Linked DNA regions of Homo sapiens: region 1 is linked to region 2. Evidence: promoter capture Hi-C in 16 types of primary human blood cells and fetal thymus (Javierre and others, 2016). All regions are on one chromosome and are shown on one strand. The core of a region is centred on a gene start or on the middle of the fragment in contact, and the rest is flanking DNA. Distances in the headings are between cores, read along the strand shown.

Region 1 (6,449 bases), core at 2,585-5,084, 83 kb before region 2:
TTGGTGGAGACGGGGTTTCGCTGTGTTGGCCGGGCTGGTCTCCAGCTCCTAACCTCGAGTGATCCGCCAGCCTCAGCCTCCCGAGGTGCCGGGATTGCAGATGGAGTCTTGTTCACTCAGTGCTCAATGTTGCCCAGGCTGGAGTGCAGTGGCGTGATCTCGGCTCGCTACAACCTCCACCTCCCAGCCGCCTACCTTGGCCTTCCAAAGTGCCGAGATTGCAGCTTCTGCCCAGCCGCCACCCCGTCTGGGAAGTGAGAAGCGTCTCTGCCTAGCCGCCCATCGTCTGGGATGCGAGGAGCCCCTCTGCCCGGCTGCCCAGTCTGGGAAGTGAGGAGCACCTCTTACCGGCCGCCATCCCATCTAGGAACTGAGGAGCATCTCTGCCCGGCCGCCCATCGTCTGAGATGTGGGGAGCGCCTCTGCCCCGTCTGGGATGTGAGGAGCGCCTCTGCCCGGCCGTGACCCCGACTGGGAGGTGAGGAGCGTCTCTGCCTGGCCGCCCCATCTGAGAAGTGAGGAGCCCCTCCGCCCGGCAGCCGCCCCGTCTGAGAAGTGAGGAGCCCCTCCGCCCGGCAGCCGCCCCGTCTGAGAAGTGAGGAGCCCCTCCGCCCGGCAGCCGCCCCGTCTGAGAAGTGAGGAGCCCCTCCGCCCGGCAGCCACCCCGTCTGGGAAGTGAGGAGCCCCTCCGCCCGACAGCCGCCCCGTCTGGGAAGTGAGGAGCGTCCCCGCCCGGCAGCCACCCCGTCCGGGAGGGAGGTGGGGGTCAGCCCCCGCCGGCCAGCCACCCCGTCCGGGAGGGAGGTGGGGGGTCAGCCCCCGCCCAGCCAGCCGCCCCGTCCGGGAGGTGGGGGGCACCTCTGCCCGGCCGCCCCTACTAGGAAGTGAGGAGCCCCTCTGCCCGGCCACCACCCCGTCTGGGAGGTGTACCCAACAGCTCATTGAGAACGGGCCATGATGACGATGGCGGTTTTGTGGAATAGAAAAGGGGGAAAGGTGGGGAAAAGTTAGAGAAATCAGATTGTTGCTGTGTCTGTGCAGAAAGAAGTAGACATGGGAGACTTCATTTTGTTCTGTACTAAGAAAAATTCTTCTGCCTTGGGATGCTGTTGATCTATGACCTTACCCCCAACCCCATGCTCTCTGAAACATGTGCTGTGTCCACTCAGGGTTAAATGGATTAAGGGCAGTGCAAGATGTGCTTTGTTAAACAGATGCTTGAAGGCAGCATGCTCGTTAAGAGTCATCACCACTCCCTAATCTCAAGTACTCAGGGACACAAACACTGCGGAAGGCCGCAGGGTCCTCTGCCTAGGAAAACCAGACCTTTGTTCACTTGTTTATCTGCTGACCTTCCCTCTACTATTGTCCTATGACCCTGCCAAATCCCCCTCTGTGAGAAACACCCAAGAATGATCAATAAAAATAAATAAATAAATAATAATAATAATAACGGTCAATCCACTCTAACAACTCCAAAACCCCCTTCTACACATAACACCATGCTCTCCTAATGGTAGGAGGAGACAAAAATGGCAGCCGCAGTTCAGTTTTCAGTTGGTGGAATGATTTTTGTGCACCTGGTGAAATCACTTTCACCCTTAGGTATTAAAATCTCCAAACTTCATACATGCAATTAAAAATTATTTTTTATTTTTAAAAAATCTTTTTCCACATGTTCTATGCAATTTTTCATACAACTCTTCCTTAAGAAACTCCTAGAGGATGTACGCAATTAAAATGAAGTCAACTCAGAAAAACACGGCTCCAGGAAAGTGGTGGGTTCAATGTAGGAAAAAAGTGAAGGCAATATCCAGGTGAAGAGAGATGAAGAGAGAGTCCAGAATGACAGGAGAACAGCAGCCCCAGAAAGCAGTCAGCTCTTACTGGAGCAGGAGAGAGGACTCTGCTAAATACATCTCCGCAAAGATCAAATTGATGGAATACCTGATGTGTTTGAATGCACTGAGAGACTTACGCTTATGGCAAAGTTTAGGGGTGTGTTAGGAATAGGACTATTAAGCCAAGCAAACAAAAAATAATATAAATATTAACTCTGAGAGGAAGAAGTTGTACAAAAAAAGAAATATAATTCAAGTATGTACTATATCTTTGACTATTCATAATACTGTACACATCGAATATAGATTGAATCAAAGCAGAGGATGGTTGAAGCTCAATTTGGGGGATGGGGGAAAGGGGAAGGGAAAAAAGGTGAAGATTAAACCCTTCCCTTCCATGGCTGGAAGTTCTGTGCCCCAGAATTCCCTTGGTTCCTGCATGTTCTCCAAGCTGATCTACATCTAAGAGCTCATCACGTCTGGTTTCCAGGTGGGTTTGGCCAGTGGGAAACCCAGGCAGGAGATCAGAGAGGATGAGGAGAATGGGGTCAGGACAACTATTTCCTCCCTTGTGGTGACATAAGGTAGGCTGTTAACAGAGGGAAACTGTCAGAAGTATTTGAACCAGAGCAACTCCATCTTGAATGGGGGCTGGGTAAAATAAGGCTGAGACCTACTGGGCTCCATTCCTAGGAGGCTAGGCATTCTTAGTCAAAGGATGAGATAAGAGGTTGGCACAAGATACAGGTCACAAAGACACCACTGGCCAAGACCCACCAACACTAAGATGGTGATAAAAGGGACCTCTGGTCGTCCCCACTGCTCATTATATGCTCATTATAATGCATTAGCATGCGAAAGGGCTGCTATTCTCTAATAAACTTGCTTTCACTTTATGGACTGACCCTGAGTTCTTCTTGTACCAGGTCCAAGAACCCTCTCTTGGGGTCTGGATCGGGACCCCTTTCCGGTAACAAAACTGCTCCTCTCGTGGTGGCTTCCTCTACTAGACTCTCCTGTATCCAGTAACCACTCCCTCCCTTCATCCTTCAGATCCCTGGTATGGACTTAGCTAGCTTGATGCCCCCTTCCTGAATTGTGTAACGTGAGCAGGAACATCACTCATCTCCATGCAGGCGTTGTCGCAGTGGGGCCACCATCCTGGCCAGGCAGTCCCGGCCATGAGACAGTCGCTGGGCTTCCCTCCAGCTTACTGCTTTTTGGTTCTGGCCTATTCTCCATGCCTGGTTCTTTTAACCTTCAGTTGGTATGAAGAGCTCCCCAATAGTCTTCCAATAAATTCCCTTCGGCTTGGGTTGGCTGCATGTTTTCTACGTGTACACCCATGAAGTCTAATTGATGTGGTTCTGTGCCCAGAAACATGGAAGCTGCGTAGGGAAACGTGCCAGCCATATGTGTGTACCTGCCAGTGCCTGGGTCCTACTAGACTGACCCAGTTAAAGTGTCTATTTCTTGTTAAATAAATCCCTTTCTGCCATAGCCAGCTGTGGCTGCTCCACATTGTTTCTCCTTCAAAATGAGGGAAGAAACAACAGCCCTTGCTGACTGGGCTCATCCTTGAAGTTGATTTCTCAGAATCTATTTCTTAGATGAAAACACCACACGGATTGGTGAAATTTCTAATGGCCAATACACACACCATTTAAAAGAGAAAAGAAACAAAACATTGTTATCCGGAGTTAATTATGCTCCACCAGGACATGGCATCTGCAAAAACAATCCCCAAGACAATGTAAAAATGCATCTTAAAGTTTCTGACATGGAATTCAGAGAAAAGAGAAAATGTCCTCAAGGAATAACACCCAAATGGACCCTCTTAAAAGATGTGGTGGAAATTATATGGAAGCTTCATAAATGCCTTTGTAAGTCTTGAGAAAAATAAGCAGCGGGTTAATTAGGGCTTTACTGTTGTAGGTGAGGCAGCCGGCAGGGAAGCAGAGAAGCTGGGAGCATGAATGTATAGAAACGCGTGGTTCTGGGTTCATTAGTGACCTCCCAGAAACACAGGTCATCAATTTAGAGAAAACAAAACACAAGGGGCTCATCTCGAGAAATCCAAGACCATGGCTTCAAAAGTGGTTCCAATCACTGAGAGTGGTAAAGCTTCATAATTTAAAATGAATATTTAGAGTTATTAAGGCTGAGGCCATTTACAGAAGCTGTAACTTGAAACCACCAGAATTACCACAATCTACAGATAGTCTAAGAGAAGGCGGTTCTGGATTTTGCTCTGTCTCTGATTCCTGCCTGATTTAGAACAAATCGATTTATTTCCCCATTGGGGATACAGATAATTTTCTTTTAGTAAACTATCACTGAATTTTTAAATTATGTCCAAAGAAAACATTGTTTTGTGGTGTTAATAATTGCAACAGCAGCCAGAAACACACCATATATCCATTACATGCAAAGAAATAGTCACAGTTAGAGTATTCTAAGTTGCTTTTATAATCTTTCTAAAGTCTCCAAATTAAGTACACTGCCTTGGACAAGGAAGGAAAGAAATGTCTGTGACCTCCATCCCTCCTCTCACTCCGTTCAAGGGCCATATCTGGATGCAAGAGGAATGTGGTGTTTTGGGGTCCTGCCACTCTGTCTGTAGTCATCGTGGTGCTGAAGCTTAAGTTCCATGAGCAGAAGCTGCTGGAGCAGGTGGACTTCCTGAAATGGGAGGTCACGGACCACAGCCTCCACGGGCTGCCTCCCTGGCTGCAGAGGGAGGCCGACCCGTGCTGCAGCCAGCGGAGCCTTGCATGCCAGAGCTGCCCAAACACTGCTGCACAAGCTGTATGCTCTGGGCCTGGTGCCCACACATGGCTTGCTCGAACTCTGCGACATTGTCAGGGCTTTGTCCAGGCCTTGTCCTTGTCGTTGTCGCTGCTGCCTCCTCCCTACCATTCTCCTCAGGCTGCAGGGCCTTCATGGAGCAAAGCCATGTGCTTGTAGGCCCTGGATGTGGTTACCGACTCCACCTTTCTTTGTCACATGCCGCATGGAGGACTTTGTCACCTGGGTCGGCTCATCCAAGATCAAGCAACACATGCCATCATACAACGGGGAGTGCAATGACTTCGATCTGGAAGCCTAGCTGGTCTCCTAGTCTCCACGGCTGCCTGTCTTTTACAGATACGACAACCAATGCTGGAGATTCTATAAGGGCGCTCCCCACAAGAGTGTCAGCAGGTTGTAGTTTCTTAGGTTCCTCAATGGCAGGCCATGCACAGAGCCAAGGAGGGGAGAGGGCGTGGTGCCTGTTTTCAAGGAAATTTTCTTAGTATTCTTAGTACTTGGACTACTGATTATTAAATGACTGTGCCTTGGGAGACAGTGAAAAGTGGTTTGGTGCTGCACTGTAGAATTGTTAGCTTCTTGTGTTGGAAACTTTTTAGTGTAAAAGCAAGAACTCTGGCCGAGCATGGTGGCTCACGCCTGTAATCCCAGCACTTTGGGAGGCTGAGGCGGGCGGATCACTTGAGGTCAGGAGTTCAAGACTAGCCTAGCCAACATGGTGAAACCCCGTCTCTACTAAAAAATACAAAAATTAGCCAGGCATGGTGGTGGGTGCCTGTAATCCCAACTACTCGGGAGGCTGAGGCAGGGACAATTGCTTGAACCCGGGAGGTAGAGGTTGCAGTGAGTCGAGATTGTGCCACTGGACTCCAGCCTGGGCAAGAGAGTGAGACTCTGTCTCAAAAAAAAAAAGAAAGAAAGAAAGAAAAAAACCAGCACATGGACTTTAGTCCACGTGTAACATATAACCCATGATAATGTAAGTAAACTTTGATAGGACAATTCTATAAGGGGTACTGGTCACAAGAATTTTTCCTCTCTGAGCATAAGAATTCAGTCCACCCAGTCCATGCATCTATATATAACAATACTTTGGGAGGTTATAAGCACAGGAAAAGGGTTTGTGGAGAATGACTAAACTCACAAACTGAAATGAAGACTAAATATATTTTGCAAGGCAGTTAATTTAGGCATAAATATAGTCACTCAACTGTGAATATCATGCATGGAGTTCTGAAGGCTGAACTTCCAGCCTTCTTCACTAAAGACTGAAATTTGCTTTGCTCAGCTCTTTTCTGGACTCCTTTCTTCCTAGTTCCGTTGGTCTTTGTGTACTGACATTATCTCTATAGCAAGTTGCCTTCTTGCTTTAAGGTCTATACCAGTCTCACGTTTAGCTGCAAACAATGAGAAGCCAATCAACAAGGGCTTAAGGAACTCTATTCACTATGTCTAACCTTTAAAGAAAAAGATGTTACTATCTTTGCAGGCCAAACCAAGTCTTTGGTAATACGCTGGGTATCTTCTCTAAGCTCCTGCTCCCATCCCACCCCAGGCCAGGCCAAGCCACTGTCCACCCTCCACCATCCTGCTCTCTGCCCCAGAGGCTGGGAACCTCTATGGACTGTATCAAGGGAGGCGCATGCTGTCCGGCTTTGGTTGGATTTGACCAGTGGGAAATCAAGGAGGACTGGGTAGGAGAGTCTCAGGCTGCAGCACAGTTCCAAGAAAGTTTCAGCAGACTGACAATGAACCCTTAAATTCAGTGCACGTTAGAGGAATCTGCATCTCCCCGGA
Region 2 (6,639 bases), core at 702-3,201:
GTTCAGCCTTCTGGGTCGTAGCTGACTCCTGCTGCTGAGCTGCAACCTGGGGTGGAGCACGGAAAGCATCACATCTCTCTTTTTCCTGGCCCTCTGGATGCTTTTTTTTTTTTTTTTTAATTTTTAATTTTTAATTTTCTTTTTGAGACCGAGTCTCGCTCTGTTGCCCAGGCTGGAGTTGCAGTGGTGCAGTCTCGGCTCACTGAACCTCCACCTCCCGGGTTCAAGTGATTCTTTTGTCTCAGCCTCCTGAGTAGCTGGGGTTACAAGCACACACCACCATGCCCAGCTAATTTTCGCATTTTAGCATTTTGCCATGTAGGCCAGGCTGGTCTGGAACTATTGACCTCAGGTGATCCGTCTGCTTCGGCCTCCCAAAGTGCTGGGATTATAGGCGTGAGCCACTGCGCCCGGTCTCTGGATGCTTTTCTGTGGGATGGGGGAGGGGGCATCCACTCTGATTGCCTCTTTTCTGTCCCATCTCCTGGCCTAGTTCCTTTGGATCTCCATCATTCTCCCTCCTCCTACTTCCTTTGCTGCTTTTAGATACCCTCTCTGGCTATGGACATTTCCAGGCATCTTATGTTTCAGAGCACTCTTCCTTCTCATGTGGAGCCCCGAACCCCTTCTTCCCTGACTATCAAATGCCACTCACAGCTTTCAGGGCCCTCAGCAGCTGAGTGTAGGAGAAGCAGATGAGGGAGAGAGGCACAATGAAGCAGAAGATGAAGAGGAACCACGTATAGGACTCGCTGCGGTATTTGGTGCCCACGGTGTACCAGTCAGGGCCACAGGAACACTGCAGGCCCTCAGGGATGAACCTGCAAAGGACCAAACACTTGCTCACTGGACTCTCCACAAGAGTGCAGTGGGAGCTGAGATGCCTGGATTGTGTTCTCCACTTAGAACCCACGGAATGCCCTAAGGCTTCAAGCAGGGGGGTTTTCTGTCCTGACTGGGAGAAGCTACAGCAATTCCAACTGCAGAGTAAACGTTAGCACTTGTCTCCCACTGCCCTTTCGCCTCATATTGCAACTCTTTAAAAGTAGAGGTCAAAGACTAAATAGTTATACCCAAGCTCTCTTTCCACCCACATCAACCTGAGCTCCTAGTTAACTCAGCACCACTGCCCTGCACTCTCACCGGCTCCAGCCAAAGAAGGGTGGGATGGAGACGCCAATACCAATGGTCCAGGTAGCCAGGACCACCGTCAGTGCATGCTTGGAGCTGAAGCGGAAGTTGCCGAAGGGCTTACAGATGACAATGTAGCGCTCAAAGGCCAGGAAGGCCAGTGACCATCCTGTAACCAGACCTGTGGTGAAATGTGAGGATAATGGGCTAGACAGAGCCCCACCCAGCCTGGCTGGCAGAGTGGCAAACAGATCGGGTGGAGCAAGCACAGAGAGACAGGGCTGGACTGACATTTGGAGTGAAGACTCAAACATCCTATTTTAGCCAAACTTCTAGTCTGGGTTGCTTTGTACCCCAGTATTTTAAAAAGCACCAGACTCATTTCCCCCAGACTCCTCTTTAGGAACCCCCTCCAGTGGAGTAGCAACCTTTGCCTTCCCCTAACCCCTTTTTCCCCTGCAGTACCTGCTACAGTGCCCAGGAAGCCCTCCAAAGCACAAACATGGCGACCGAAGACGAAGTATCCGTTACAGCTGGCGACGAAGACAGGGAAGACAGAGAAGATGCAGAGGAGGAAGCCTCCGAAGGACACGTTGACCAGAATGTAGTTGAGGGGCTGCCGCAACTTTTTGTAGCGCAGTGTGGCCACCAGCACCATGGCATTGAGTGGGAACCCTATAAGGAAGACAGTGCCCATGAAAGCTGCCTGGAGGTAGAAGGCCCAGACAGGGGCAATGTGGTACTGAGGCCCATCCCACGGCCCCACTGAAGAGATATTTTTGAACAGATAAAACTCTTCCTCCGACATTTTTCTCATGGATGCCCCACACCCCCCTCTGAGTCCTCTTATAGGTGATCCTCCCACCCCACAAAACCCCTCCTCTAAAAACACTTGGGCTCTGTGAATGATCAATACTAATCCTAAACCTCCCAAGGACAAAGTTTGGGATTAGAAATCCCTAAACCACTACCTAAACCTTTTGTGGCCCCAAAGCCGATTGTGTTCTTCAGAGGATAAGAGATTGGGCTCAAATAATCTGGATATGCAATGCTGGGTGCTGGGATGAACAGAAGTGGACTCCCTGAGGTCTGGGAGGTGCTGACCCATATTCACTGAAGATGCTTCCACTTTTTTGTTCTTTTAATGGGGCTATAGAAAGGGCACGCCTCTTATTTTGGCTTCTGGCACAACTGTATCAGTTAAGTTTTCCTCAACTCATCTGCCCCTTTGTGGAAGGTGCCCATCTTAAGTCTGCTGAGAGGCTAGGAACCAGCCCTGGGCTGCAGGAAAGGGCTGGGAGTGGGGAGTGCCCTGGAAGCACATCAGTAAACAGCCTTGATGGAACAGGACTTAGGCAACTTGACAATGCCTAGAGGTCTAGGGCATCCCTGAGCCAGGCTGCCTCCATTTCTTTGTGTTGAATCTACTCAAAGAGTGTGCCTTTCCTACTCAGACCTCCAGCCAGGGAGGTGGGTCTGTTCACTGTCCTTACGCCATGTTCATGCCTACCCCTACCCTTAGCTCAACAAGTCGCCACAGTCTTCCTCCTGTCTGTTCATTGAAGTCTTATCTAGCCCTCACAGCCTACCTCACAAACACCTCTTCTGTGCAGCCCACCCCAGTGACACCAACTCTGCTTTAAGTTCCACCTGCACTTGTACTCAGTACTACACTTTAGGCTTTATGAATGAATCTTTTCCACCTCAGCAGATCATAAATATATAGATGAGTTGGCCGGGCGTGGTGGCTCAAGCCTGTAATCCCAGCACTTTGGGAGGCTGAGATGGGTGGATCACAAGGTCAGGAGATCGAGACCATCCTGGCTAACGGTGAAACCCCGTCTCTACTAAAAATACAAAAAATTAGCTGGGTGTGGTGGTGGGCGCCTGTAGTCCCAGCTACTTGGGAGGCTGAGGCAGGAGAATGGCGTGAACCCGGGAGGCGGAGCCTGCAGTGAGCCGAGATCACGCCACTGCACTCCAGCCTGTGGGACAGAGCGAGACTATATATATAGATGAGTTAAAAGTGACACACTTTAGGTATAAGTAAGTTTAAAAGTGAAAGGATGGTCCAGTAATGGCAGAATAGTTTATTAGATGAATGCCCCCTTAGGCAAAAAAATTGTAAACTGGACACAATATGAAAAACAACTTTTTGAAAACACCTAAAGTATCCAAAGCAGGCAGAAACTGAAAGGAACTCAACTCTTCAATGAAAAGAACCATCTACATTGTTGTTTTTTTTTTTCCCTGAGTGTACTCCCGAGTATAAATGGCACAGGATAGCTAGAACTTGAGCAGAAAGCCCCAGCCTTTTTTGGCTTGAAGAGTCAGAGGACAGAGGACAGGAGACAGAGGACAGTTTGGGACTCCAGAACAGCTGAAGGTGGATTTCCTGGAATGAAAGAAGCCACAGAAGGCAAAGTCTTTAAATCTGCATATAAACTCCCCTCAAATCATAGGCTGACTGCTGAACTGTGGATGGAGGAATTTCCAAGAGCCCAGTAAAAGACAACCACTGGAGGTCTGAAAGAGCTAAGCAGATTTTGACTGTTACCCACTGTAGCAGAGAAAGAGTTTGAATTTGAATCCCAAGTCAGAGGGTCTGGGTAAACACTTAGGGCTTTCTACTTGAAACTCCCAAAAGGCCACACCATAGAGCTAAAATCTATATCCCAGGACTAAATATTTGTTCTGAGAGTAAGGTCAAAGCCAAAGCTGACTCATACTAGCAAAAGATAAAACCAAGCCTCAGCGGGTTCAAGGTGATCAACTAGTAAGTTAATTGCTTATTAGAACAAAAATCAACACCCCTCAATGGAAGATAACCCAGTTTCTAAAGTTCACTATCTACAATGTCTAATATACAATGAAAAATTAAAAGGCGTGTGAAAGAAAAAAAAAACCCACAGGAAAATATGAGTCATAGCCAAAAGAAAAAGCAAGCAATAGAAACAGAACCTGAGATGACCCAAGAAGTTGGCACCAGCAGGAAAAACTTCAAACAGCGATATAAATATATTCAAGAACTGGAAGGAAAAAAATGATCATCGTGAGTTAATGGATCTCAGCAGAAGAATGGGAAAAATAAAATAGCCAAATGGAAATTCCAGAACTGAAAACTACAACATGTCAAATGAAGAATTTACTAGATGGCTGAACAGCAGATTGGACAGCAGAAGAAAGGATCAGTGAACTTACAGATAGATCAATAACAAAAAGATATCTGGAAAATCCCCCAAACACTTATGAATAAGCAATATACATCTAAATATCCTGTGAGTCAAAAGAGAAATCATAAGGAAAAACTGAAAGAATTTCAGCTGAATAACAACAAAAAAGTATTAGAAATTGAAGGAGTCAGCTAAAGCAGTACTTAGAGAAAAATTTATAGCTTTAAGTATTTATACTAGACAATAAATGTTTAAAATTTAAACTTTCACCTTGAGAAGCTGAAAGGGTGAATCAAATCTAAAATAAATAGGGGCAGATACTAAAAAGCAGAGCAGAAAACATTGAAATTAAAAATGAATAAAGAATGGAGAAAAATCAATGAAACCTGAAGCAAAACAAAATAGTTCTCTCCTGTCTCCAGCATCTCCTCAGTAGGATCTGAGCCAATCTCAGGTCACTGCAACCTCCATCTCCTGGGTTCAAGTGATTCTCTTGCCTCAGTCTCCCATGTAGCTGGGATTACAGGTCTGTGCCACCATGCCCAGCTAATTTTTGCATTTTTAGTAGAGACAGGGTTTCACCATTTTGGCCAGGCTGTTCTCAAACTCCTGACCTCAGGTGATCTGACCACCTCGGCCTCCCGAAGTGCTGGGATTACAGGCATGAGCCACTGTGCCCAGCTGACTTAATTATTTCCGAAAGACCGCCACTCTCATGTGCATGCGCACACATGCACATCCCACACAAACACTCGGCCGCAGGTGGGAGTCCTGGTGGAGGTTACTGGGGAGAGCCAGCTAAGGGTCCAGTCAGATTGCCTGAGTCATGGGGGGAACAGGGTGGGAGGGCACTGTCTGGGAAGGTGTGAGGACAGTATTAGGAGGGGCCAAAGATGTGGCCACCTAGCCTTGTACAGATGAGCAGAGCTGCTCATCCGTTGCCCTGGGCAGGACTTCAGGACCAGGGCCAGAGGTCACCTTAAGGTGCCTATCCCTGAGCAGGGCACATGGACTGTGTGTGAGCCTGGCCTGCGTGGAACAAGCCAGCCTCCACTGTCCGCTGGGCTCTGCTGAGGTGCCCACCTCTGCAAACATTTCTGATGGGAGGCTAAATGGCGAGGGTGCAAGACACCCCGGGCCCTTTTACATCCAGTGTACAAGGCTAGGTGGCCACATCTTTGGCCCCTCCTAATACTGTCCTCACGCCTTCCCAGACAGTGCCCTCCCACCCTGTTCCCCCAACAGCAGAGGGAGACAATGGGCCCAAGCTGGAGGCAACCCAATCCCTGAGGGGCTCAGACCAAAAAGAGCCTCACCCAAGCGCAAAGTCTTACCGGTGCTCAAGCCATGGACAAAAATTCTCCAAAGTCATGGAGGCCACGGAGTAGGAGGAGGCAAGCTTCTGAGGAAGGGGCATGGGGTAAAGGAGGAAGAGAAAATAGAAAAACTGGAGGCAGACTGGGCACGGTGGCTCACACCTGTAATCCCACCACTTTTGGAGGCCAAGGTGGGCAGATCACTTGAGGTCAGGTGTTCACCAACCTGGCCAACATGGTGAAACCCTGTCTCTACCAAAAAATACAAAAATTTGCTGGGCATGGTGGCGCACTCCTGTATAGTCCCAGCTATTTGGGAGGCTGAGGTAGGAGAATCGCTTGAACCCAGGAGGCAGAGGTTGCGGTGAGCTGAGATTGTGCTGCTGCCCTCCAGCCTGGGCAACAGAGCGGGACTGTGTCTCAAAACCAAAAAACAAAATAAAATAAAAAATAAAAACTAGAGGCATCTTAAGTGCATTTAGTTATACAGTGCTCTTCCCAGGCTGAAAATCACCTTATTAATTTAGAACATGTTAATACACTAAGGCTTTACAGAAGATCACATGAAATACACTTAGACCAGGATTTCTCAACGTTGGCACTATTGACATTGCAGATAATTCTTTGTCTGGGGGCTGTCCTGTGCATTGTAGGATGTTGAACAGTGTCCCTCTCCTCTAGATGCCAAAATCAACACTACCAGCCCAGTCATGATAACCAAAAATGTCTCCCGACATTGTCAAATGCCTCCTGAGAGACAAAACCCTTCCCCACTCCCCTCCCCTCCAGCTGAGATCCAACCATTGATTTAGATTTAGACTTACAAATGCTCAGAACCCAATATAATACAATCAAGTGAAAATTTGTTTTTCCATATATATATGTGTGTGGCCGCATATATATATGGCCAGGCGCAGTGGCTCACGCCTGTAATCCCAGCACTTTGGGAGGCCGAGGCAGGTGGATTACCTGAGGTCAGGAGTTCAAGACCAGCCTGGCCAACATAGTGAAACCCCGTC

Evidence for each region. Contacts are between HindIII fragments. The CHiCAGO score rates a contact against its expected background, and 5 or more counts as called.
Region 1: a fragment that was not itself captured here is called in contact with the fragment with the promoter of OPN1SW in region 2 in 1 of 17 cell types (M1 macrophages); the score reaches 7.2 in M1 macrophages.

The regions. Positions count from the first base shown.
Region 1 is chr7:128,688,981-128,695,429 of GRCh38, forward strand. It overlaps a transcript of GARIN1A not described here and the pseudogene IMP3P2. Among named protein-coding and RNA genes, the nearest start is that of GARIN1A, 20 kb to the left of the region's middle. RefSeq lists an enhancer at 4,601-5,101. The HindIII fragment of the contact is 257 bases long and covers 3,707-3,963 here.
Region 2 is chr7:128,773,843-128,780,481 of GRCh38, forward strand. OPN1SW (opsin 1, short wave sensitive) reads right to left here and starts at 1,952. Exons shown (of 5, transcript NM_001385125.1): 1 at 1,597-1,952; 2 at 1,144-1,312; 3 at 656-821; 4 at 1-46. The coding sequence starts at 1,939. RefSeq lists cis regulatory regions at 1,938-2,505, 1,946-2,940, 1,949-6,639, 1,949-5,748, 1,949-3,048 and 1 more. The HindIII fragment of the contact is 6,893 bases long and covers 1-5,701 here.